Regions from separate parts of the Homo sapiens genome. Here regions 1, 3, 4, 5, 6 and 7 are each linked to region 2. Evidence: promoter capture Hi-C in human tissues and cell types (Jung and others, 2019). All regions are on one chromosome and are shown on one strand. The core of a region is centred on a gene start or on the middle of the fragment in contact, and the rest is flanking DNA. Distances in the headings are between cores, read along the strand shown.

Region 1 (3,925 bases), core at 528-3,027, 680 kb before region 2:
TTGTATAGTTATAAAAATTATTTTGTAAGTTTTAATAAAATAAATGCAGCCAGTTATATTTAATAACTTAGATATTTAAAGTAGAGTAAAAATATTTTACCCAACATTTTAACACAAATAAATTTTAAATTACATGACTTCTACACATTTATAGTGCAGTAAAAAAAAGAGCAATCCTTATTATTTATTCATTCATTCCAAAAATCGCTATTGACCACTAAATCTAGCTTATCGGATATACATGCAAAGATAAGAAAACTTACTCGAGATGGGCTGGCAAGGTGGCCAAATAGGAACCGCTTCAGTCTGCAGTTCCCAGCGAGATCAATGCAGAAGGTGGGTGATTTCTGCATTTCCAACTGAGGTACCTGGCTCATCTCACTGAGACTGGTTAGACAGTGCGTGCAGCACATGGAGGGCAAGCCAAAGCAGGGTGGGGTGTTGCCTCATCCAGGAAGCGCAAGGGGTCAGAGAAGTCCCTCCGCCAGCCAAGGGAAGCCATGAGGGACTGTGCCCTGAGGGACGGTGCATTCGGCCCAGATACTACGCTTTTCCCACGGTCTTTGCAACCGGCAGACCAGGATATTCCCTGGGGTGCCTACACCACCAGGGCCCTGGGTTTCAAGCACAAAACTGGGCAGCCGTTTGGGCAGACACCCAGCTGGCTGCAGGAGTTTTTCTTCATACCCCAGTGGCACCTGGAACACCAGTGAGACAGAACCGTTCGCTCCCCTAAAAAGGTAGCTGAAGCCAGGGAGCCAAGTGGTCTAGCTCAGCGGATCCCACCCCCATGGAGGCCAGCAAGCCAAAATCCACTGGCTTGAAATTCTCGCTGCCAACACAGCAGTCTGAAGTCGATCTGGGACGCTCGAGCTTGGTGGGGGGCGGGGTGTCCACCATTACTGAGGCTTGAGTAGTTGGTTTTCCCTTCACAGTGAAATCAAAGCCACCAGGAAGTTCAGACTGGGCAGAGCCCACCGCAGCTCAGCAAAGCTGCTGTAGCCAGACTGCCTCTCTAGATTCCTTCTCTCTGGGCGGGGCATCTCTGAAAGAAAAGCAGCAGCACGATTCAGGGGCTTATAGATAAAACTCCCATCTCCCTGAGATACAGCACCTGGGGGAAGGGACGGCTGTGGGCGCAGCTTCACCAAACTTAAATGTTCCTGCCTGCTGCCTCTGAAGAGAGCAGTGGATCTCCCAGCACAGCTCTTGAGCTCTGCTAAGGGACTCACTGCCTCCTCAAGTGGGTCCCTGACCCCCGTGCCTCCTAACTGGGAGACACCCCCCAGCAGGGATCGACAGACACCTTATATAGTAGAGCTCCAGCTGGCATCTGGCAGGTGCCCCTCTGGGACGAAGCTTCCAGAGGAAGGAACAGGCAGCGATCTTTGCTATTCTGCAGCCGCCAGTGGTGACACCCAGGCAAACAGGGTCTGGAGTGGACCTCCAGCACATTCCAGCTGACCTGCAGCAGATGGCCTGACTGTTAGAAGGAAAACTAACAAACAGAAAGGAATAGCATCAACATCAACGAAAAGGGCGTCCACACAGAAACCCCAACTGTATGTCACCAACATCAAAGACCAAAGGCAGATAAATCCGTGAAGATAAGGAAAAACCAGAGCAAAAAGGCTGAAAATTCCAAAAACCAGAACACCTCTTCTCCTCCAAAAGATCATAGCTCCTCGCCAGCAAGGCCACAAAACTGAATGGAGAATGACTTTGACAAATTGACAGATGTAGGCTTCAGAAGATGCATGATAACAAACTCCTCTGAGCTAAAGGAGCGTGTTCTAACCCAAGGCAAGGAAGCTAAGAACATGGAAAAAGTTTAGACAAATTGCTAACTAGAAAAACCAGTTTAGAGAAGAACATAAATGACCTGATGGAGCTGAGAAACACAGCACAAGAGCTTTGTGAAGCATACACAAGTATCAATAGCTGAATTGATCAAGCAGAAGAAAGGATATCAGAGATTGAAGATCAACTTAATGAAATAATGTGTGAAGGCAACATTAGAGAAAAAAGAATGACAAGAAATGAACAAAGCCTCCGAGAAATATGGGACTATGTGAAAAGACCAAACCTATGTTTGTACCTGAAAGTGATGGGGAGAATGGAACCAAGTTGGAAAATACTCTTCAGGGTATTATCCAGGAGAACATCCCCAACCTAGCAAGGCAGGCCAACATTCAAATTCAGGACATACAGAGAACACCACAAAGATACTCCTTGAGAAGAGCAACCCCAAGACACATAATTGTCAGATTCACCAAGGTTGAAATGAAGGAAAAAATGTTAAGGGCAGCCAGAGAGAAAGGTCGGGTTACCCACAAAGGGAAGCCCATCAGACTTACAGCAGAGCTCACTGCAGAAACCCTACAAGCCAGAAGAGAGTGGGGGCCAATATTCAACATTATTAAAGAAAAGAATTTTCAACCCAGAATTTCATATCCAACCAAACTAAGCTTCATACGTGAAGGAGAAATGGAATCCTTTACAGACAGCAAATGCTGAAATATTTTGTCACCACCAGGCCTGCCTTACAAGAGCTCCTGAAAGAAGCACTAAATATGGAAAGGAAAAACCAGTACCAGCCATGGCAAAAACATACCAAATTGTATAGACCATTGACACTATGAAGAAACTCCACAAACTAATGGGCAAAATAACCAGCTAGCATCATAATGACAGGATCAAATTCACACATAACAATATTAACCTTAAATATAAATGGGCTAAATGCCCCAACTAAAAGACACAGGCTGGCAAATTGGATAAAGAGTCAAGACCCATTGGTGTAGACCCATTGGTGTGCTGTATTCAGGAGACCCATCTCACATGCAAGGACAAACATAAGCTCAAAATAAAGGGATGGAGAAATATTTACCAAGCAAATGGAAAGCAAAAAAAGAGGAGGAGTTGCAATCCTAGTCTCTGATAAAACAGACTTTAAACCAACAAAGATCAAAAAAGACAAGGAAGGGCATTACATAATGGTAAAGGGATCAATGCAACAAGAAGGGCTAATTATCCTAAATATATATGCACCCAATACAGGAGCACCCAGATTCATAAAGCAAGTTCTTAGAGACCTACGAAGAGACTTAGACTCCCACACAATAATAGTGGGAGATTTTCAACACCCCACTGTCAATGTTAGACAGATAAATGAGACAGAAAATTAACAAGGATACTCAGGACTTGAACTCACCTCTGGACCAAGCGGAACTAATAGACATCTACAGAACTGTCCACCCCAAATCAACAGAATATACATTCTTCTCAGCTACACATCACACTTATTCTAAAATTGGCCACACGATTGGAAGTAAAACACTCCTAAGCAAATGCAAACAATCGTAAATCACAACAAACAATCTCTCAGACACAGTGCAATCAAATTGGAACTCAGGATTAAGAAACCCACTCAAAACCACACAAGTACATGGATACTGAACAAACTGCTCCTGAAAGACTGCTGGGTAAATAACTTAAATTTCAACCTTAGTAAAATTAAGGTAGAAATAAATACCTTCTTTGAAATCAATGAGAATAAAGACACAATGTACCAGAATCTCTGGGACACAGCTAAAGCAGCGTTTAGAGGGAAATGTATAGCACTAAATGCCCACAGGAGAAAGCAGGAAAGATCTAAAATCCACACCGTAACTTCACAATGAAAAAAACTAGAGAAGTAAGAGCAAACAAATTCAAAAGCTAGCAGAAGATAAGAAATAACTAAGATCAGAGCAGAACTGAAGGAGATAGACATGAACAACCCTTGAAAAAATCAATGAATCCAGGAGTTGGTTTTTTGAAAAGATTAACAAAATAGATAGACTGCTATCCAGATTAATAAAGAAGAAAAGAGAGAAGAATCAAATAGACACAATAAGAAATGATAAAGGGGATATCACCACTG
Region 2 (3,699 bases), core at 26-2,525:
TTTGCATTTGCTGGATGTGTGAATCTATGTGTATTCCAACTGGTGGGCAGGGAATATAGGGCTACGAATCGGCACACTCATCTTGCAGGCATTATTTTTCCTTCCCAGCCACAACCTGCTAGACACCTTTATTATTATTATTTTTTCCGGTCACCTCTAAGATGGCTTATAAGGTGACTGCGTTAACTTTGAACCCAGGAAATTCTCTTTCACACTTGACTGCCCTGCCGTTCCCCTCCCCGCCAAGCTCCCCTCACCAGTCCCAGGGAAATCGGATCTCTTTGTCTTCCCAGTGTTAAAATGCCTGAGTCCCACAAACTTTCCGAGATCAAGTCCGCCCTCTTGTCCGGGCTGCGTCCCAGCGCCTCCGGCCCTCCGGGCTTCGGCCGAGTCCGCCCTGCGCCGAGCCTGCGGCTGGAGCCCTGCCCGCACCGGGGATGGGCTCCGCGCCCGGGACGCTCAGGCTGGGCGCCCGGCGCGGGGAGTTCTCGGAGCGGGCTTCTCGGCGCTGGGGCTTCCCCTCTGCCTAGGAACTTGCAGTTGTCGGCCTGGGGTCACGCTTTGGGGCCCCTGGGGCCGACTCCCGGGCTAGGAAGCCCGCGGGACGCCGCGACTGCCTTTTGTCCCACAGGCCTGGGCGTCCGGGGTGTCAGCGGGGGAGGCCAGGCGCCCGCGGCGGGGAGGGCCTGGGGTCTAACTCGGCAGAAAAAGGTCGCGGGGGAAGCGTTTCCATTTTCTGGGGATTGAAGGAGGAAGTAGATTCCGACCTAGCTGCATTCCTTTGGAGACCTGAAGGACGACTTCAGCCCACCAAACCTTCGCGGACCCAGAGCCGCGCCATTCAAATGCAGATTCAGGGGCTCCCAGAAGGCTATGGAAAAGCTAAAGGGATGCCTCTGGGAAGCTTTCTCATTAGGCCCCAGCCTTTTTTTTTTTTTTTTTTTTTTAGCTAAGCTAACGTTTCCCTTTCTTGGCAGGGAGCTTTCCCCAATTCCTTGCACAGCGCCTGTGGCTGGCCGTAACTAACCTCGGCATCACAAGCCTCGCCCTGCCCCTCGGAGCCGCGCTAGACCCCGCTGGGCGCCTTCTCGTCTCCCAGCACGGACCTGGTGTTCGCAGGGACTGGGGCTCTTTGGGTCCGGGCGGGACTGCGTGGCCGAGCCCGCGGTCCCAGAGCCGGCAGCCGGGGAAAGTGGGCTCGAGTTTCCGCGCCCGAGAAATGAGCGCCGGCGCCGGCGGGCGGGGCCGGGGCGGAGGGATCTCCTGCGCTCGGGGAGCGTGAGGCGCCGGCGCCGAGCTGGGCGGCCGGGCGCGGGGAGAGGGCGCGGGAGCGGCTCGTGCGGCAGGTACCATGCGGACGCGCGAGCCCGGCGAGGGCCCCGGCAGGCCCGGTCCCTGCTCGGGGGCGCGCTGAGACGGCGGGTGAGCTCCACGAGAGCGCCGTCGCCACTTCGGGCCAACTTTGCGGTTAGTTCGCTGGGGCGCGGGCCGGCGGGCGGGGGCGAGAGCGTGCAGCGCGCTGCGGTGCGGACTCTGTGGGTGTCCGCCCGGTCCCCGGCTCGGGCTCCGGCGCTGCCGAAAACGGATGAGCGCGCGACTTCCCGGAGGGTGGAGTGACTCGGTCCTTCCCAGTTGGGAAATTCAGCACTGGCTAGGGGGGTCCCGGCGGCGGAGCGGGAAAAGGAGGCGACCGCGCGGGACCGATCCGGGGCCATTGCTGGGGTCCGATCCTTTCTGACACGCCGCCTTCCCTCCGGGAGCTCGCCGGGCTGCGCCGGCCTCGCGGTCTCCTGGGGCATCCCGCCGTCTGCGAAAGACCCGCTCGCTGAGCGGTGCACGCGGGAGGCCTGCGCGGGGCTGCCGGGTCCCTGGGTCTCTGGGTGTTTGCGCCCTGCAGGAGCGCTGCCCGGAGGTGCAGATGCAACCGGTGGACTGCGGAGTGAAGGGCTGCGAGGCTGCATTTCGGGGCTGAACATCTGCACAATGTGCGGTTTGTCAGTGTTTTCTGTCTTCTCTGGAGGAGGAACTTCTAAGATCTTTTTAAAAGAAAGAGTTTTTGGTCCTTCATTGCCTTTAAAAAAAAATGCTTTCTTTTAGAGAGCCAGCTTTCTGCTGTGTGTTAGATTTTTTTGTTCCCGCTGATGTGAATTGCAAGGCTTTGGAAACAAGGACGCAATTGTATGAGTTAGGAAAGTAAACTCATAAATATTTTCTATGCAGTTAAGTTTTTTTTTTTGTCTGAACTGTGGTTTCATTAAGTGGCTTTTGTTAAGCAATTCCCGGGTGCCTGATAGAGGCGATTTTTTAAAAGTGGATATTAACAGTGATTATTAGTATGAGAAAAGATTGAAAAGAAAATGACCTTCAGATATTCATTTCCTTTTCAAAAGCAGATTCTTAATGCTTCGTATATTCAGATACAGGTTTCGATAGTTTAAGAAGGTATCTGTGTGTGAGAACTAGGTAATGGTGATGTTTTTCACACTATTCTTAATGAGTTTGGTTATGCTGTCCAACACATCCAGTTGTTACAGGGACGTTTGAAAAGGTGTTTCTCCAGTTAATAGTTAATTGTGATATTTGTCTTTGTCTTTTTGTCTTAGGAAGACAGCTCTGATTCCACAGTTAGAATTATTCCTTTGTATTTAAGATGTAAAAATACTTAAAGCACTATGTAATTTTTTAAAACAACAATTGGTATAAGCCTTGAGTGATGCTAAACATGGCATTTAACAAGCTCAAGGTAAGGTTTGATTTGAATGAAGTTTGCATTTGTATAACCATTTTTTGAAAAATGAACACCTTAAATGAGCCAAATTCTTTGGCACTCTGGAAAGAAGTGTGGTTGTTAGAGGACTTTATAAAATCATTTCGGGCCACCTGTATATTCATTTGTCTCTTTTGAAGTATCCCCGTTGGGTTCTCATCATGTTAGTAGATCATTTAAATCCATGGTCCGGACAGGTGCCAACAGAAAAATGTTTAAAAATTATGGCCGGGCGTAGTGCCTCACGCCTGTAAACCCAGCCCTATGGGAGGTCGAGGCGGGCGGATCACCGGAGGTCGGGGGTCCGAGACCAACCTGACCAACATGGAGAAACCCCGTCTCTACTAAAAATACAAAATTAGCGGAGTGTGGTGGTGCATGCCTGTAATCCCAGCTACTTGGGAGGCTGAGGCAGGAGAATCGCTTCAACCCGGGAGGCGGAGGTTGTGGTAAGCCGAGATCGTGCCATTGCAATTCAGCCTGGGGAAAAAAAAGAAAAGAAAAAGAAGAGAAGAAAAATCTTTAAAAATTATGCACAAACTAATTCTGTTTTCATTCCCCTGATCATCCTCTACCTTTCCATTGCCTTTAGACTTTGCTTTGAGGTCCCTTTGAAGCAGTCGTTTCTTTGAATGTTAGAGGTGGATAGGATCTTAGAGATTATGTTTTAACACTTTACCCGCTTGCTTTCCACCCAAGTTTGGCTGATTTTACGTAGAATCAATCAGCCAAATCAAATTAGTACATTATTATTGCATTAGATTCTGTCTCAGTGGCATAATTTGTAGCCTAAAGGACCTGATTTAATAGCAGGGAGCCGTAAGGCTGGATGTGCTGTTTAATCTTTATGAGTGGGATTTGCGCTAGATAATTGTTCTTTTGACCAAATTATGTAGAAGTTGAAGCCAAACTCTATCTTTTGGTCTCACTTA
Region 3 (3,581 bases), core at 527-3,026, 750 kb before region 2:
CTCTCCCATGTCCCCATTTTCTTATTTTTAAGCATAACTACCTAAAATATATCCCTACTAAAATGTTTTTGCCATGATCTAAATTTTAGGCAGTTGAAAAAGCTAAATCTCAGCACTAGCCAAAAGCCCCACTTGATACTTGCATTTATGTCAGATGAGCTGCCACGACAAAGAGTTACCTTTGACTTCCTCCCAGTCATATAGACTTGGTGCCCTCCCTCAGCTTGAATGTCACTTCTGGCACCTCTGGGTCCTGTTCCCCAGGTGAAAAATGGACAAACACTGGGCAAATAGAAATCTGAAATAAAGACAGTTGCACACTCTCTGTTCCAATCCATTCTGTGTTTCCAATCTGTAGCTCAAATCCCATTTATTTTCACCCTCACTTGAAAGTCTACCACCTCAATCTAGGTCTTTATGGTCTTTCTCCAAGATAATAGACACAGCAATCCTTTATCTCATCTGCCTAGTGAGATGACTACATTATTTTTTATTTCAAATGCTGCCGAGGAACAGAACTTCGTAAAACAGTTCCTTTCTGCTTCAAGTATCCATAGTGGCTTCTCATTACTCAATGAATTAACACCAGGTCTCTCCCATTTGTGATACCAATGCATAAGTGACAGGAACAGTTATAGGCAAGAGATAGAAAGAGTTGGGTTGGGATTTATGACTGATTAGTTCACAACTGAAGGTGCAACAAAGGCATTCAGGTAGGTTTTTGTTTGTTTGTTTTGCTTATTTTGGCCAGCTCTGGATCCAGGAGTTGGCTAAGTCCGGATACAGTATTAGCAACACTGAGTGACACTGAGTCGGATACATGGCATGGATACTGAGGAGTGTATTGTACTTTCTGCTCACAGGAACCTGGGTCCAGTACAGCAAGTTGCTCTGATTCAACTTGTGTGCACTGTGTGTGCAAGTGGTAGAGACACTTATGGTGAAGCAGCCTCCTGGTCCTAGCTGTGTATTTGTGTTAGAGTAAGAATTGCAGGAAACAGGTTTACGAAGTCTTCGGGCAACCTTATTTTTATCAGTCACTAGCATATGCTTTCTCACCTAACTGGGAGAGGCTCCTTCCTCGGCCCCAACTTGTCAAGCTTACTGTCTGAGTCTAATTTGGTATTCTAAGGGAATCCCTGAGGTGGGTAATTTATAAAGAAGGGTTTATTTGGCCTATGGTTCTGCAGGCTGGACAAGAAGCACAGTGCTGACAATGCCTGGCTTCTGGTGAGGCCTCAGGGAACGTCCACCATGGTGCCAGGAGAAGGTGAGGGGGAGCTGGTACGTAGAGATCACATGGCGAGAGGACATGGCAGGTGGGTGGACACAGGTGCCAGCCTCTTTTGAACAACCAGTTCTTGTGGGAACTCTGAGGTGAGAACTCACCCCCAATGGGGGCCATTAATCTATTCATGCGGGATCTGCCCTCATGACCCGGACTCCTCTCATCAGGCCCCACCTCCAACACTGGGGTGAGATTTCAATGCAGGGGTTGGAGAGACAAACATCCACATCATAGCACCTGCGTTCTCATCTGTGTTTCTGTTGGTGCATCTCCCTTTGTTTGAGATGTTCCTTCATATTTTATCCACCTAACCATATCTTTTCATTCTACCTTGTATTTAATTTTCAAATGTTAGTGAGATGGCATTGAGTTCCAGTTCCATTCATCTGTGAAGCCATCTTTAAATTCCTCATGTCATTCTGACTTATCTCTTCTTGGAACCTTGGCACCAACAGTGAGTCATGGCCACACTGAAGGTGCTTAGTGTCATACACGGAGAGCGGCGGGCATGTCTTTAACTGGTTTTGTGTCTCACATGCAGCCTGGCACAGTGCTGAGAACAATACATAACCTCTGCAAGACTGTCTTAACCAAAGTTCAATAGTTCCAGAAAATTATTAAGTTTTTGAAAATATGAAACTGTTTTTTAAAAGAATAGGGAGAAATATAACAATCATGAAACCACCAAATTTAAGATCTGAAATTGGTAGCCTCTCATCTGACCTCCACATTTAATGGGAGAGGAAAATTATATGCAGAATAATTAGGTAATTTGCACAAAGCTAAGCAGTAAACTAGAGACAGACACAGGCTGTCCAGATTCTAGCCCCAGTCTAACACTCCTTGCTAAACTGGACTAGAGTATATAGTGAAGCTTCATGGAATGCAAAATTGAATGAAAGTATTTTAACTATGCTTGTCATATGAGTTTATATTCAAGCATGCCCTCTTATAAGCTGCAAAACGAATTGTCTAAATATAACCGTGGCTAACATTGCTGGTTAGCTATCCAATATACCTTCTCCTTTCTTCTTTTGTTCTCTCTCTCTTTCTTTCTCTCTCTCTCTCTGTGTGTGTCTCTCTTTACACAACACACACACATGCACACACACAGAAAGAGAGAGGTAGAGACAGAGACAGATAACAGATACAGAGAAAGGAATAGCTATGTTTCCAGTTAAGACCTAAAACCTCCTACCCCTCTTTGTGTTAAATGGCAATTTGGTATATTTCTTCTCACTAATAGAATATAATTAAAAGTTAGCTAGAAAGTGGTTATTTTTCCAAATTAAAAAGAAAAAACCTCCTATGTGAAGAAGATATTTGGCTTTTTATCCTTTTTCCTTCTTTGTGGTTGGAATGCAGACATGGCATTGGATGTGCAGCAGCTGTCTTGGAATCATGAGGATGAAAGTCACGACCAAGGGTTAGGACTGGAGAGATGAGGAGCCTAGGTCCTTGAAAACATTCTTGAAGAGCTCTGTCCTGAGCCAACTCCATATTTGTAGGGGGAGAACTACAAATCTCTTACTCATGTAATCCAATTGTTCTTAAGTTTTGTGTTACTTGCCTTTGACTAGTCACTTTTGCAGTGACTTTGGTGCAACCGAACTTTTCAATACATAAAAGCAAAACTATTTTTAGATGGTTTAAATATGCTAGGCACCTTTCTATACCCTTTAAATATATTATCTCATTTTATCATTATATCTGTATAAGGAATTCATTGACATTCTTATTTATAAAGATAAAAAAGAAAATTTAAAGAGGTTAATTATCTTGCTTATGGCCACATAGTTTTAAGTAGCAGATGTTCTTGTCATGCCAGTGGCCACTTTCTGTTCATCTCACACTATGCATGTGAAGCGGAGCTCTGTGAGTCCATGCACTATTTCATAGTTTAAGATATTTGACTGACAACCTTGTTTCTTCTCCAGAAATGAAATACCAAAGCTACAGTAAAAACACATAACCTGTACAATCTGCATATAATTCAGACAAAGAATATAGTTAAAGTGGTACAATTCTGCAACTGTGAATTTAGTAGTTTCAAAGAGAATCAATTATAGAACTGATTCTATTTTTCACTCGGGCTCTTGAACTTGGCCTTAAGTTGTCATGGTAATTATTCCAGGTATAGCTGCCTTAAACTTAAAAATAAGCAACATTTTGCAGCTTTTCAACACTTTAGTACAAGCTCCATTTAAGTAGAATGGTCTTCTAGAATTGTTTTTCTCCTGCAAACACATCATTTAAGTTCAGGCTCCAAATGATATAAACCTTAAGTCTTTCA
Region 4 (3,493 bases), core at 642-3,141, 620 kb before region 2:
AGTCTCCATACAGGAAAGCAAAAAGAAAATTATTCTTTTTCAACCCTGTCTGACAACCCATACCCTTTAATTGTAAGGCTTAGTCACCTTATACTTAATGTAACTCTTGTTATGGTTGGATTTAAGTTCACTATATTACTGTTCGGTTTCTGTTTGTCCCACATGTTTCTTGTTTTTGTTTTGTGGTCTTTTAGCTACAATTCTTTGCATTGTTATTATATATTTTTGGAAATTATTCCAGAGATTACCATATGCACCCTTAAATTATTATAGTTTATGCAGTTAATATTGTGCTGTAGCATGTAATATATGAAAATTTTGCATCTGTATACATGCATTTATCTGGTATTTGTATTCTTGTTACTATATATGATATATTCAGGCACACCTCATTTTATTGTGCTTTGCTTTATTGAGCTTCACAGACACTGCATTTTTTACAAATTGAAGGTTTGTGGCAACCCTGCATCAAGCAACTCATTTGGTTACATTTTTCCAACATTTTGTGCCCACTTCATGTCTCTGTGTCCTACTTTAATAATTCTCATAGCATTTCAAACTTTTAAATTATCATCTGTTATGGGGATCTTTGATCAGTGATCTTTGGTGTTACTATTGTAACTGTTTTGGGTCACCACAAACTGCATCCATATAAGACAGCAAATGGTCAATAAATGATGTGTGTGTGTTCTGACTGCTCTGATGACAGTCTGTTCCCCCATCTCTCTCTCTCTCTCTTCCTCTCTTCAGGCCTCCCTATTCCCTGAAACAGAACAATATTGAAATCAGGCCAATTGATAACCCCACAATGGCCTCTAAGTGTTCACGTGAGAAGAAGAGTTGCATGTCTCTCATTTTAAATCAAAAGCTAGACATGATTAAGCTTAATGAGGAGGGCACGTCAAAAGCCAAAATAGGATGAAAACTGGCCCTCTTGCACCAAGCAGTTAGTGAAGTTGTGAATGCAAAGGAAAAGTTCCTGAGGGAAAAGTTCAACTCCAAGGAACACAGAAATGATGAGAAAGAGACACAGCTTCATTAATGTTAGAAGTTTTAGTGGTCCGGACAGAAGATCAAACCAGGCACAACATTCCTTTAATCCAAAGCCTAATCCATAGTAAAGTCCTAACTGTCTTCGATTCTATGAAGGCTGAGAGAGGTGAGGAAGCTGCAGAAGAAAAGTCTGAAGCTAGCAGAGGTCAGTTCATGAGATAAGGAAATAAGCCATCTCCATAACATAACAGTGCAAGGTAAAGCAGCAAGTGCTAGTGGAGAAGCTGTAGCAAGTTATCCAGAAGATCTTGTAATGATCATTGATGAAGGTGGCCACACTAAACAACAAATTCACAGTGTAGACAAAACAACCTCCTATTGAAAGAAGATGCCATCTAGGACTTTCTTAGTGAAGAGGAGAAACGAATGCCTGGCTTCAAAGCTTCAAGGAACAGGCTAACTCTCTTGGTAGGGGCAAATGTAGTGGAAGCCAGTGTTCACTTACCATTCTGAAAATCCTAGGGCCCTTTAGAATCATGCTACAGCTACTCTTCCTGTGCTTTATAAATGGAACAGCATAGTCTGGATGACAGCACATCTCTTTACAGCCTGGTTTACTGAATATTTTCAGCCCACTGTTGAGACCTACTGCTCAGGAAAAAAAATTTCTTTCAAAATATTTCTGCTCACAGACAAAGCACCTAGTAACTTGAGTTCTTTTTTCCAGTATATTTTATTTATCTTTTTAATTTTAGATTTAATGAATACATGTACATATTCATTATATAGGTATATTGTGTAATGCTGGGGATTGGGCATCTGGTGTAACTGTCACTCAAATACTGAACATTGTATTCAATAGGTAATCTTTCAAACCTCACCCCTCTACCCCTCTATTCCATCCCTCCTTTTGGAGTTCCGACTGTCTGTTATTTCCATTGCTATATCCATGTGTACCCATTGTTTAGCTCCCACTTATAAGTAAGAACATGCAATATTTGATTTTTTGCTTCTCAGTCAGTTCTCAGAAGGGCTCCATCCTTGTTGCTGCAAAAGACATATTTCATTTTTTACTGCTATGTAGTATTCCATGGTGTGTGTGTGTGTGTGTGTGTGTGTGTGTGTGTATATATATATATAAAACTTATCTAGTCATCTGTTGATGGGACACTTAGGTTGGTTCTGTGACTTGGCTATTGTGAATAGTGCTTCAATAAACAAACAAGTATAGCTGTCTTTTTATATAAATATTTTTTTTTCATTTGGGTAGATACCCACTGGTGGGACTGCTGGGTTGAATGGAAGCTCTATTTTTAGTTCCTTGAGATATTTCCATGGTGTTTTCCACGGAGATTGAACCAATCTACATTCTCACTAAGAGTGTACAAGTTTTCCCTTTGTCTGCATCTGGTTAATAGTAGCCATTCTGACTGGTGTAAAGTGATACCTCAGTGTGGTTTTAATTTGCATTTCCCTGATGATTAGTGATGTTGAGCATTTTTTCATGTGTTTGTTAGCTGCTTGTATATCTTCTTTTGAGAAATGTCTGTTTATGTCCTTTGCCCACCTTTTAATGGGATTGTTTTTTCTGGTTGAGTTGTTTGAGTTTCCTGTAGATTCTGGATGTTAGTCTTTTGTTGAAGACATAATTTGCAATTATTTTCTCCTATACTGTATATTAGTTTACTCTGTTGATTATTTTGTTGCTGTACAGAAGCTTTTTAGTTTAATTAATTCTGATCTATCTTTTTTATTTTTGTTATATTTGCTTTGGTGTCTTTGTCATAAATTTTTTGTTTAGACCCACATCTAGAGGAGTTTTTCCTAGGTTTTCTTCTAGGAATTTTATAGTTTTAAGTTTTACATTTATGTCTTTAATTTATCTTGAGTTAATTATTGTATATGGTGAGAGATAGTGGTCCAGTTTTATTTATCTGCATGTGGTTAGCCAATTTTCCCAGTACCATTTACTGTCTTTTTTTATTGTTTATTTTTTCAACTCTGTCAAAGACCACTTAATTGTAGGTATGTGGCTTTATTTCTGCATTTTCTATTCCATTCCATTGCTCTATGTATCTATTTTATGCAAAAATCATGCTGTTTTAGTTACTATAGGCTAGTATTATAATTTGATGTCAGACAGTGTGATGCCACTAGATTTGTTCTTTTTGTTTAGGACTGTTTTGGTTATTATGACTCTTTTTTGTTCCATATGAACTTTAGGATCTGTTTCTAAATTCTGTGAAAAATGACATTGGTAATTTGATACGAATTGAATTGGATTTATATATTGCTTTGGGCCATCTGGGCACTTTAATGATCTGAGAGTTCTGATAGCGATGTACAAGGAGATTAATGTGTTTTCTTGCCTGCTAATACAATATCCATTCTGTAGCCCATGGATCAAGGAGTAATTTGACTTTCAAGTCTTATTATTTGAGAACTACATTTCATAAGGCTATAGCTGCCATAGATAGTGATTCCGCTGATGGATCTGGGA
Region 5 (3,904 bases), core at 498-2,997, 650 kb before region 2:
GGCAGTCTGACTTTAGAGACCTTGCTATTCTTCACTCTCTTTTAGGCTCCCTCCAAGGCTCAGTTTCAGCCCAGGATGCAACACATACTATGCAAAGATATAATAACTGGTTTAAAGAAAGCTAGATTCATATTGGCCCAGATCCTAGCCCCAGCACAATGTAGCAATATGGCAAATTGGCCCAGGAGTCTAGTTTGGAAATGCCTCTCAAACTAGGTAGGATTATCTGGCTTACGCTGAACGATTTTATGCGGGGCTACTTTGAAATGTTCCACTAAAGCATTATTAAATGACGCCACACAGTCATATACTCTGGGCACCAAACAGCAATAGATACAGCTACCTGCAAACATCCCCAAAGGCTTCAGGTTTACTTTTCCTGCCTCCTACCCACTAGCCAAATAAGTAATTCACTGCTTTTCACAACAGGCTCCTGCTCTTCTTGGCTCTCTACTGAGACTCATACCTATGCCTGTGTAAATGTTAGCCATCCTTCATGGCTCCAAAGCTAAGGAAGCTTTCTCAGTTTCCCTAGGTGAAGTGACAGTACCTTCTATATATTAATTGTGACATTTGTCATTCATCATCCTCCTCATCTTAAGATCCATTTTATTCCTCGCTTATTTTTCTTAGCCATAAGAGCATGTTTTTTGTTTGTTTGTTTTACCAAATTTGGTCTTTTGTACCAAACAATGTCTTGCTCATAGTGTGAATTCAGTAAACATTTTTAAAATAAATAAATAAATAAGTAAAGAGTAAATGGATTGTGTTAGGGACCCATGACACAGGGCAATATAGGTTTAGCATTCCTAATCCAAAAATCTGAAATGTGAAGTGCTCCAAGATATGAAATTTTTGAGCACCAACATGATAACACAAGTGGACAATTCCACACCTGATTTCACATGACGGATCACAGTCAACATACAGTCAAAACTTTGTTTTATGCACAATATTATTTAAAATATTTTATAAAATTACTTTGAGGCTATATGTATAGGATACATATGAAACAGTAATGAATTTTGCGTTTAGACTTGGGTCCCATCCCTAAGAGTTCTCATTATGTCTATGCAAATATTCCAAAATCTGAAAAAATTCAAAACACTCCCGGTTCCAAGCATTTTGGTTAAGAGACACTTAATGCGTATCAGCAAATTTTCAGAGAGAGGTTAATGGGAGGAAATATTCATAAAGCAATTGAATAATTCGGCATTGCCTCTGTAGAGCAATGCAGTTCCCTGGAAAACACGAGGCTTATCTTCATGCAGCTTTGCCAGATGGATGTGAAACTCCTCCAGCTGATCCTTGTGGAAACCCATCCATCTCATGTCACTTAAGTGGGGATATATGGAAACGTGACTAATAAGACAAAAGGAAAACAAAGTTGCATTCAGTATTTGGGATAAAATAGCTTTCTTCCTGTATAGATGTGTTTTTGTCATTGCAAAGGAATCTAACACTGACAAATAAGATTCTTCCACCTGCCTCACTTTCTATTCCAATAGATAGTTGGCAGACTCTCTTTCCTATGAAAGGCATGGGTAAATGCTACTTAGGTAGCAGGTGTTGGAATAATTTACCTAACTATGATTTAAGGAGTATCACAATATTCCTACCCATTCCTTGGGTTCCTTCATGTGGGAGATGCAGACTGGGCTATGTTTGGGACATTGGTCTCTGGGTTTCATTCATCACACTCCAGTATTTCAATCTCAGCTTCCTTTTCTGTACACTTCAACATTATGTAGCTGTAGATGAAAGATCTTTTGACATCATGAAAAGGTATGTATAGAAGATAATATAGACATGCATATGCACAATAGGGCTTGTCTCCTTCTCACCCCACCCACAACATGTGCTTCCTGATGTTCAGGTAACTGAAAGGTCAAACACTGTGTCACTGACTGTGTATTAGCTTTTTATAGCAAGAGGGGAAAAGTGATGAGTGTGAATGTCATCAAGGTGGTGTTGGGTAAGCTCACTGCAACAATCCTGCTGTACTGAAAGAATTCTGCTTTAGGGAGGCCTCTGGGTTCACTTCTGCTCAGATGGTGCTGAACTCCCACCAACTTTACTTCTGCTTTTCCAGGCTGACCATTCCCCTCCAGCTGACACATTATTTCAATGAACAGTGTTGACACTATTTCCACACCCCAGTTCCCGTGGACCTGGGAGATACCCTGTGTCTTCCCCTGATGAACTACTTTAAATAACCTCACCCTCACAGGCAAGAACACCAGCTTCTGCATACTGTGGAGTTCACCCACCCTAGATTGTCCAATTTCCTCCTGCTCTTTTGCCTCTTCAGGTAATGGAATCACACTCTTATTCTGAATTTCAACTCTTTTCCTCCCTTCCTTCATACATTTCTCTAGAGCTGAAGTGAATCATTATTCTTTGTTTGCAAAGAAGCTTCCTTTTCCTTTATGGAGAGGTCTCAGAATCTCCTGCCTTTCATAAACTTTCCTGATTAAATAAAAGAGCGATTTCTCTTTTCTTCCTTGTCCTAGAAACCGATTTCCATATTATAAATAAGCACTCAGGTTAGAAATATATATGCAAAACTTCTATTCTAATTTATGCCTTTTCTATGACATCCATATTTCTATATTGACAGATAAGAAATATTAGAAGATTTCAAATATACAATTTTTTTGCATAGCATTGTTAATGGTATTTCTGCTGTATTATTTATGTTGGTTCACTCAGTCTCCCTTGCATCTTTTCTCTCTTTGGGAAGATTGGAAAGTTCAGTTACACTTCCTAGATTCTTTTGATGCTAGAATTCTGTATTGATGAACTCATGAGATATTTGGAATGCAGGAGTGAGCAGAGTCCGTCTCTGTGAAAGTTTTGGAGGGTGCCGTTTATAAGAAAGTCCATGGAAATATGATGTTCCTCCAGCAGCCAGCCAGCGTCTGTTACATAGGCTCCTGAATATTGACAGGTGGTGGTGGCAGAGATGCCAGTTTTAACCCCTTATTTCCAGCATAGTTCCAGTGTGGTGGCCTCAGAGAGAATAGCTCTATTACTCCAGTCTGTGTTGTTTGAAGTGTAATGCGATTCCAAGAGGCTAATCTCAGACCTACTCCTTAGACCTTCTACAGATCCTGAAAATATTTTACTTTGTGTGTTACATGTCTTTCCACTTAAAATGACTGGAATTGTTTGTGATTCTTGTAGAAAACCCTGACTGGGCCAGGTGCGGTGGCTCACGCCTGTAATCCCAGCACTTTGGGAGGCCAAGGCGGGCGGATCACAAGGTCAGGAGATCGAGACCATCCTGGCCAACATGGTGAAACCCCATCTCTACTAAAACTACAAAAATTAGCTGGGCGTGGTGGCGCGCACCTGTAGTCCCAGCTACTCGGGAGGCTGAGGCAGGAGAATCACTTAATCCTGGGAGGCATAGATTGCAGTGAGCTGAGATGCTACTATTGCACTGCAGCCTGGGTGATGAGCAAGACTCTGAAAAAAAAAAAAATCTGACTGATACACTTCCCCATTGCTTATACAGAAAATTGGCCTTCCAGGGACCTCCATCACCAGTCTCTGTATATGGATTCCGTCAGCCCGGCAGTCTTATCTCGCAGTCCTCTTGCCAACAGTTTGCTCTTATTACACTGTCTAGAATCTATCAAGGTCTTCCGTATTTCTGTGCTTCGGACAGGCCATTTACTCCTAAAAAGTGTCCCACCCCCTTTTCCTTACCCTCTCCCTGCCCTCCCTGACTCCTTTTCTTCTATGTCCAACTAAAATGTCTGCTTTGGTGACCGTAAGTAGTTAAGGCAAAGCTAACGAGTTCTACTGTGTCTGGTAGAGAATTCTGTAATTGAACTCATCACACCCTGTTGCCGGCGTGCATTCAGATTTCTTTTATTTATTTTTATTTATTTTGCAT
Region 6 (3,811 bases), core at 1,083-3,582, 820 kb before region 2:
GAGGAAGGACAAAAATACCACAAAGGAAGGGAGGTTTCCAGAAGAAGTTGCCCTTTCATTTGTGTTTCATTTCCTTTCCCAGATTTAGCTTGTGCCACATACAATTTAAAGGTACTCCTTTGCCAATGTAATGTTTAGACCTGTTACTTCGCATCCTCTCTGAATAAATAGCAGTTGTTAGAAAAAGACTTAACTCAAAAGCTGTAGGGGAGACCCTAGTTCTATGTTATTCACAAATGCTCTGCACTCATTGTGCTAATAGAAAGTTGTAAGAATCCTATTAAATACATATATTTTTACCCTATATTTTTATGTATTTATTCATAAAATGGAAACTAAAGCTGTGCATACAACAGCAAAAACAATATTTTGGTGCTGATTATTGCTTCCTAGACTTTAAAAATTTTCTACTGTAATAATTTTCAATAGATTAAAATATCATCATCTATGACAGCCACACAGTTTTATATTTAATTTGTTTTTAAGCAACCAGAAATTAGTATTAAAGTTTTGGGTTTTTTCAATTATAAAAATAAGGAAATAACATGATCAATCTAGTTAGCGATATTTCTTGACAGTTAGGTTTTTTTTTTTCCTTTTTAAATCATGTATCTTAAAATTACTGACTTTGGAACAGTAGGGGAACGTGAATTAGAAAGTTTTATAAAAATTTCAAAAAATGTTAGCATTAAAGTCATGGTTTTATGTTTGTAATTCATTCAAAAAGTAGTGTTTTCTGCTTATACCCACAGAAATCATCTCTGAATAATAAATAATCTTTACAGTTTTCAAAGAACTTTCAGCTGCATTTCACTGAGGTTCAAAGAGGTGACTTGTTCAAAGTTACCTAAAAAATAGGATGTGGAGCCCACATTTGCATCTGATTTTAGACCTCATGTTCTAAAAAAATGGTGTACAAACTCCATAACCTTGCAAAACCTCTCCATTCTTGTGATTTCCTCTCAAATTTTTATAAACTGAGGTTATGCCGCATACACAGCAAGATTTTCCTCAGATGTTATAGATGACATGTTCTGTCTTTACAACTAAATTGGCACTTCATTACAGGTCAAGATCTCATGTGCAGGCTGTTACTTTAGTATCTCTCTTCTGTACCCCAAAGCCTTTAACGTCTTCAAGCTTATCATCGGCTCAATAACATTTGGTGACTGAATATAAAGAAATGAATCATCATTCATGTAACTTACAGCATTTCAAAGTTCAAGCTAATTTGAAGTTTCTTTGATTTAGTACAGAGGACTTAACATGTGTGGGTACATGTTTCTAAATCATCAAGGATCTTGTAACAATAAATGGTACTGAGTTTTCAGAATATGTGAGAGTTTGATCTAAGGAGGGTTTTCAGAATTTTGTTGAATCGTTATCTCCCCTGAGGCTTAAGTTAATGCTTTCTGTTCCCATTCACTAAAGTTCCTAAATCTGCTTCTTAAAAAATAAATTTATGTTTTTCTGCTCTGAATGTTGAAAGGCTTCCAATAGGTCCTGAAAGCACAGTATTTCATTTCCTGGAGTTTCAATGAACTTTTTTTTTCTTAATAGCTCCGTGAAACTGGAGAATAATTACTTTTTCAGTTAATGTTAAACTGATGGCATTTTTAAACGAGAAGCTGGCAGCAAATATTATGTCAAGCTATAGTGCATTAAAGAGTGGTTTGGCCACTTTGCAACTCACCTCTGAAATATCAGACTTCCTTTGTCGAGCCAAGTACAGCATTAAGAAATCACACCGTAGAGGTGGAGGGGATGCTGGGATTTTTTGCTCCAGGCATAGAGTCTGTTTCTCTGCACACTACTAAGTGAGCCTGACTTTCCAATCCTTTTTACAACCCGGCAGTTCTTTTGCAAAGATCCGAAGTTCCATTTACTCACAGGCTAACAAATATGTAGATATAAATAGGTTAACATTAATAAGTCATTTAAATGCTTTACTGTTTCTCTGGTTTGTTTAAAAATTGGGGCAAATTCAGGATCTTTCCCCATACCTTTTGCAATGCCTTAAGAAGACAGGAAGGTAGTATTTTCCAGCAGTAACTCAGGCATCAGTGCGTGCTATACTGATAACTGAAATAAACTGTAGCAGAACCAACCCTTTCACTTAAACTTAACAGATATTTCAATCTATCGGGACACTTCGGAAAATATACTTTCTTGAGAGCAAAGCTCTGTATTCCATGCTTTGAAAGATATTAAGTAAAGATGAAACAATTGAGGTTACAACAACTACATAAATAACTATATTTAATATATAGTAGAAAGTATTAAATTTCATAATAGATGTACAGATAAAAGGCTCTGTATGTGGAAAAGAAAAAGATGGCTTCCTCTTCGAAGGGTTTAGGAGATGGTGAGGGAGGGATGAGGACAGAGTCAGAAGGCCTGGTTCAGAATTTGTTTTCACATGGCTAGAGCAGAGGGTTTCTCCCAGAGACAGACACACAGGAGACAAACTGTGCAGAGAGAGAGAGAGAGAGATCAATTCAAAGCCATAAATCTATAGTTAGTGATCAAGCTTGGGGTCACAGAGTTGGGAGATCAGAGCTGGGAAGATCAAAATGAGACCTGAAAGGATTAGAATTAGAATAATTTGGGAACAAGTAAAGACAGGTACACAACCTCAAACACTAAAAACAGTTCTTGGGACACTGGATTTGAGGTACTTGGTTTGGGCCGTCTTCTTAATGGGGCAGGAGGATCATGTGGAGATGTTATGTGAGGAATGAAAGGTTATGCCCCATTCTGCTCGTACTGATGGCTGTGTGTGTGTGTGTGTGTGTGTGTGTATCTGTGTGAAGAAGGACTGTGTCATTTGTGCTACAGTTTATGTTTGGAATAAAGTTTTATGTGATCCAGAAAACGGTTCACAAATGAATATATCATTCCGAATCTAAAAATCACGTTAAGTCCTATATTACCTATACTGTTAAGGTTCAGGCTATCAACAGGAAAACACAATTTCTTAATCTCATCTTTAACTGGATAAATGCGATTTTAGTGGACATAGATTCTCTAAATATATGAAAGATACAAAGGAGGCAACTGGATAATTGGTGTACTTAGAACTTGGTTCTGTTATCTTCCTTGTAAGAACTTTATTGAGGTCTGTTTTGCATATCATAAGAGTTCAGCCATTGCAGGTATACAATTCAATGACTGTTTTGTAACTCTGTGGCATGATAGGAATATCACCATAAATCGATCTCGGAGCATTTTTTCATGCCCCATCTAAAATCCCTACTGCCTATTTACAGTTAATTCTTTTTCACACTTTAATCCCCAGGCAACTACTAATCTAGTATTGATCATTAAAAATGGAATCCACAGTCTGTGGTCTTTTGTGACTGGCTTCTTTCACTTAGGGCAATGTTTTTGAGGTTCATCCATGATGTAGCATGTGCCAGCAGTTCATTCCTTTTTATTATCCAATGCTATTTCATCATATGAATAGACCATATTTTTATCCATTCGCCAACTGAGGGGTGGTCAAGTTGTTTTCAGGTCCTGGCTTTTATGAATAATGCTGTTATAAACAATGATGTGCAAGTCTTTATGTAGATAGATGTTTCTTTTCTCTTGGACAGATACTTAGGAGTGGAATTGCTTGGTGATATGGTAGGTTTATGCACAACATTTTGCGGAAATGCCAAATTATTTTCCAAAGGGGCTGAAATGGTTTTATTATCTTGATGATGATGAAGACAATATCTGCTACTACTATTTCTATGTGATGTGGGCCAAGATTAAGTTAAAAATTACATATATAAATATATATATGTATATAATTTTCCATTCA
Region 7 (3,999 bases), core at 274-2,773, 550 kb before region 2:
ACTCCGTGAAGCACTCAGTGAAGCATTGTGGCCTGTCTTTGGCATCTGGTGCTGTAGATGCCTCCGAGTCTCCGCCCTATCCTCAGGGTGCCTCCTCCAGGGCTCTGTACCCAGCAGTGGGTCTCTCCTGAGGATGCTTCTGTGCCAGACCTGTTGCCCTCAGCTCAGGGACCTTCTGCTTCTGGGTTCTTTCCATGTCTCTGACTTCAGCCTTCCCTTCAAAGGATCTAACATCTTCCCACACTCCCTCCGTTTCATCCCAGAAGAGTGGACTGAGACATAAACATGTCTGTCCACTTTTCTTTTTCCAATTTTCTTTTCCTTTCTTGTTTCTCTTCCTCATCACCACCAGAGTGTAAGGGGCAGATTTTCCATTTTTTTTTCTTTCCAGTGTAGAAGGAATTCTCCCTATATCATATCCTCTTTTTTCTCAAACTGTATTTGTCCTGTCTCCTTCCAGATGCTCTGAGGGTGAACGGGCTTCAGAGAGAGGCTGGATAACCAATAAAAGAGGCCTCACAAAAATAATTTCCTATGAGATAGCAAAATTGGTGGCTCCACCATGGAGTCCAAAACAAGAGAACACTTGGTGAAACTGAATTATCCTTTGAACCGCAGGGGACATCAGCAATCACAGCAGAATCGAAAGCAGCCAATGCCAGTCATTCCCTGTAGGTCTGTATCAGGATTCTCGCCACTGCGAGGCGTCTCCCCTGTGGGGATGGCTGGACACAGAGGCAGTCTACTCTCGCAGGCATGGTGTATTCAAGCACAAACATTCCTTCTTCCAAATAGCATGGTGGTCATGTCATGAAAAATCATTTCTTTGATACCACCTTGAATGCTCAAGAATAGCACTGAAAATATCACCACAGTATTAATGAATAAGAACAACATGCTAATTAAATGTTAGGAATACCAAAGAAATTAGCTGGGTTATGTCTAATTACATTATCAACTGAGAATTATTTGCACAGGAAAAATATGAAAAACATGGTTCCAATTCAGAAAATCTTCTACCTAGTAAACTTAAGTAATGCGATTTTTTAAAAAATCAAAATAACCCTTGGTTTAAGATTTGGCTACATGGCAGACTGAGAGGAGGTGGTTCTAATTCTAGAATCAATGCTAATTTCCTCAGTTCAATTCCATCCAGCTGGCACCATCAGCATAATCTGTATGCTTTCTAGCTGGGCCAGCCTCTCCATTCAGCTCAATGCTTACTGAGCCTTGTGTAGATATCAAGAACCTAGCAGTCCCTGCCCACGGGGTGCTTATAATCTAACAGGGGAAAAAGAAATGCACAATTAATGAATTCAAAATATGAAAAAGTACAAGCCGCAAGCACAGTATAAAGTGTTAGCCAAAAGACCACACCGATTATCCATGACGGATTTTTCTTTTCCAATTCTCTCATAAAATCTTTATGTGATATGTGATTACCAAATCATATTTAGAATTTGAGAAGTTGAGGCTATTGCATTAACAGATTATTTACTGACATGCAGTCTTTTAGAATAGTAGCTGATTACAAAGAAGGAGGTAGGGCCACTAACTGGTATGACAAAGGACTGATCATTACACATTAAAAATATCATCCTCAAATCTGCATATATTGTCACAAAGGAGAAACTATAAGAGCAGTTTTTTTCATAAAGACCCGTTATATAATACCTATTCTTCATCAAATAACCCTCATAATTTATTTTAACCAGTTTTTATCTGTATTGTTTCAGCAAGAGTATTGTACAACCCCAGAGCATATATCCACATGATATTTTTGTGGCAATTATTATAATCTGATCAGATTCACCTATGTAGATCTAGGGGATAAGACATAACTAGCATTCTGCAGCAGGAAAAAATGAAGGAAAGAAAGGCTCAATGTCATTGCACTTGAATACAGAACCAAGCTAAATAACAAGGTCCCATTTTTCTCTGATGTTCTTTCTTATTCTTGAAGATTCAAGATGCAAATAGCATCACTTTTGTAGTGTTCTAGCAACACATTTCTCCCTGTCCATGTGCAGAAATGATTATTCTCACTTTTTTGTTACCTCTGGGCCTGAATATACTTCACTTCTAAATCTGTACTGCAGAATTTTTAGTAGATAATTTTTTAAGACTTTCTCCAAATGGAGTATAAATAACTTCAGGGCAGCAGTTCACCAATGCTTAATATCCTGTGTGGTATCTTTTCATATTGCATATTTGCCTTGTAAAGAGGAAATGAAGTAGCTTATATTATATATACACATACAGCATATATGTGTGTATCTATGCATATACACAGCAAGAAACATAAATAAAAGAAATATGGCTAAAAAAGGAGAGAAGGAAAATAAATTTAAGGGTAAATTAACACATGAATTTGAAGGCTATAGAGGGAAGACCACTTCAGGAAGAAAGAAAAGAATGTGTCCAAAGATGCTTGAGACAGAAGTTCAAGTTCCTGCAAGTAGCACAGATTTCAATGTGACATTAATATGAGGAGAAGGAGGCTGGGTGAGGAAGGGAAGGACAGCAGAGGAGAGATGAACCCCACAACTTTGGTTCACCTTATAGGTGACAAAGCTTTACCTGTTTACACATTTTCTAACTTACTTTGCTCTAGAAAATAATTCGGGCAACTTCCTTTCCTGTCCTAAAGGATTCTGCAGCTATTTCAGCAGGTCTGTTGGAGGAGCTGCCAGCAGTACCAGCACATGCAGATTTCACAGTGGAGAAAGTGAGTCTAGAAACCAAAAGGCAACTAAAGGTACCAGATGTGACTTTACCAGAACCAATTTTGAAAACTACATGGTAAGACACAAAACGCAAAAAGTTAAAAATAGTCAACTGTTAATTAGGGAATCCTGGGCAGACATGAGCGTTGGAAACTGAAAGTGGAGTCACATACGTTTTTCTTACTGTGGTAAAACTAGGCCAAAGTGTACAGGAGAAGCTGCACACAGCAACTGGTTGTGAGTCAGAGGAAAGGCTCCATCATCCAGGAAGATGTTTCCAGCTCCAATTGATCTAATTCTGCAAATACTGATAGATTTGTTTAAGGAAACACAGCAATGCAGGAAAGACGCTAGCAAGAACTTGCCAGTCAACAAAGCATGTCGATTCCTACGCCAAGTTATCCTGCCAATGCTCTTTAAAAATAAGGCCCAGAATTATTATTAAGTGATAATTAAAAGAAAAACATATGCTCAATTTTGGCTTGGTTTTCTGGGATATGGTAAATTTTGAAAGCCTTGCCCGTCATAAATGTGTGAGTATTTTATGATATATAGTGGACAGACCCAGCCTAACGTATATGATTCAATTGACTAAAAATGTCAGCATATGCATGATCAATTTCCAATTTCTCTTGCCATAAATTTAATCATTATTCATCATGAATTATATAATAAAAACATTAAAACCTTTTAAAATTTGATTATTATAAATTTGTGTTCTGAAAGAGAACTAAGTTGAGCTATGTCCCAACAAAAAAAGGAAGAGAAGGAATAAATCTAGCCTTAACAATGGTCTCTCTGAAAGTTTAAACTTGATTGGAATAATTGTAGAGAACTTTTTAAAATATAAAACTAGTGCCAATCTGCATAACAAACAAACTTTCTCATAAACAAACATGGCTTGTATATTTATGATGAACCCAGAGAATGATGTGAAAGTCATCAAATCAGGCCATCCTCTCTTGAGATATATGACTCCTACAATACTTATCACCAACCTATGCACCATTTTGCCATATGTTGCTTTCCTACAGGTGCTTAATACCATGATACCTCTGTTCCTTAAGTTATTTGAACTCCATTTCAAGGCCAAGTTTACTCTAGCCATGAGGCCAACTCTCAGGAGGTGATAAAAGAGCAGAGCGCTCTAATTTCTTTTCTTTAATTCCCAGAGCATGATAGTAACCCCACAGCCACTGTCACAGAGTGAAATGAAGTGTTCCTTTTTGTTCAGGTAGGCACTTGAACACAATTAGGGAAAATCTCTGCTGTG

The links. Contacts are between HindIII fragments. The study calls those that stand out against the background at their distance.
Region 1: a contact is called between a fragment that was not itself captured here and the fragment with the promoter of FAT1 in region 2, in 1 of the 25 tissues and cell types used here (dorsolateral prefrontal cortex).
Region 3: a fragment that was not itself captured here is called in contact with the fragment with the promoter of FAT1 in region 2 in 1 of the 25 tissues and cell types used here (dorsolateral prefrontal cortex).
Region 4: a contact is called between a fragment that was not itself captured here and the fragment with the promoter of FAT1 in region 2, in 1 of the 25 tissues and cell types used here (lymphoblastoid cells).
Region 5: a contact is called between a fragment that was not itself captured here and the fragment with the promoter of FAT1 in region 2, in 1 of the 25 tissues and cell types used here (lymphoblastoid cells).
Region 6: a contact is called between a fragment that was not itself captured here and the fragment with the promoter of FAT1 in region 2, in 1 of the 25 tissues and cell types used here (IMR-90 fibroblasts).
Region 7: a contact is called between a fragment that was not itself captured here and the fragment with the promoter of FAT1 in region 2, in 1 of the 25 tissues and cell types used here (lymphoblastoid cells).

What each region holds. Positions count from the first base shown.
Region 1 is chr4:187,405,238-187,409,162 of GRCh38, reverse strand. The region is part of intron 1 of LOC339975 (a long non-coding RNA gene); the gene reads left to right. It overlaps LINC02515 (long intergenic non-protein coding RNA 2515), which reads right to left and starts at 313. Exons shown (of 3, transcript NR_183821.1): 1 at 264-313. The HindIII fragment of the contact is 3,307 bases long and covers 124-3,430 here.
Region 2 is chr4:186,721,432-186,725,130 of GRCh38, reverse strand. FAT1 (FAT atypical cadherin 1) reads left to right here and starts at 1,275. Exons shown (of 27, transcript NM_005245.4): 1 at 1,275-1,467. RefSeq lists enhancers at 1-832, 1,333-1,834. The HindIII fragment of the contact is 8,530 bases long and covers 1-3,699 here.
Region 3 is chr4:187,468,435-187,472,015 of GRCh38, reverse strand. All of the region lies in intron 1 of LOC339975 (a long non-coding RNA gene), which reads left to right. Among named protein-coding and RNA genes, the nearest start is that of LINC02515, 61 kb to the right of the region's middle. The HindIII fragment of the contact is 4,826 bases long and covers 1-3,581 here.
Region 4 is chr4:187,340,317-187,343,809 of GRCh38, reverse strand. The region is part of intron 1 of LOC339975 (a long non-coding RNA gene); the gene reads left to right. Among named protein-coding and RNA genes, the nearest start is that of LINC02514, 29 kb to the left of the region's middle. The HindIII fragment of the contact is 3,694 bases long and covers 45-3,493 here.
Region 5 is chr4:187,369,142-187,373,045 of GRCh38, reverse strand. LINC02514 (long intergenic non-protein coding RNA 2514) reads right to left here and starts at 2,398. Exons shown (of 3, transcript NR_149103.1): 1 at 2,271-2,398; 2 at 1,620-1,751; 3 at 1,125-1,362. The region is part of intron 1 of LOC339975 (a long non-coding RNA gene); the gene reads left to right. The HindIII fragment of the contact is 4,395 bases long and covers 1-3,904 here.
Region 6 is chr4:187,545,370-187,549,180 of GRCh38, reverse strand. The region is part of intron 2 of LINC02492 (long intergenic non-protein coding RNA 2492); the gene reads left to right. Among named protein-coding and RNA genes, the nearest start is that of LINC02492, 130 kb to the left of the region's middle. The HindIII fragment of the contact is 4,057 bases long and covers 304-3,811 here.
Region 7 is chr4:187,275,923-187,279,921 of GRCh38, reverse strand. No RefSeq gene overlaps it. Among named protein-coding and RNA genes, the nearest start is that of LINC02374, 76 kb to the right of the region's middle. The HindIII fragment of the contact is 8,426 bases long and covers 1-3,999 here.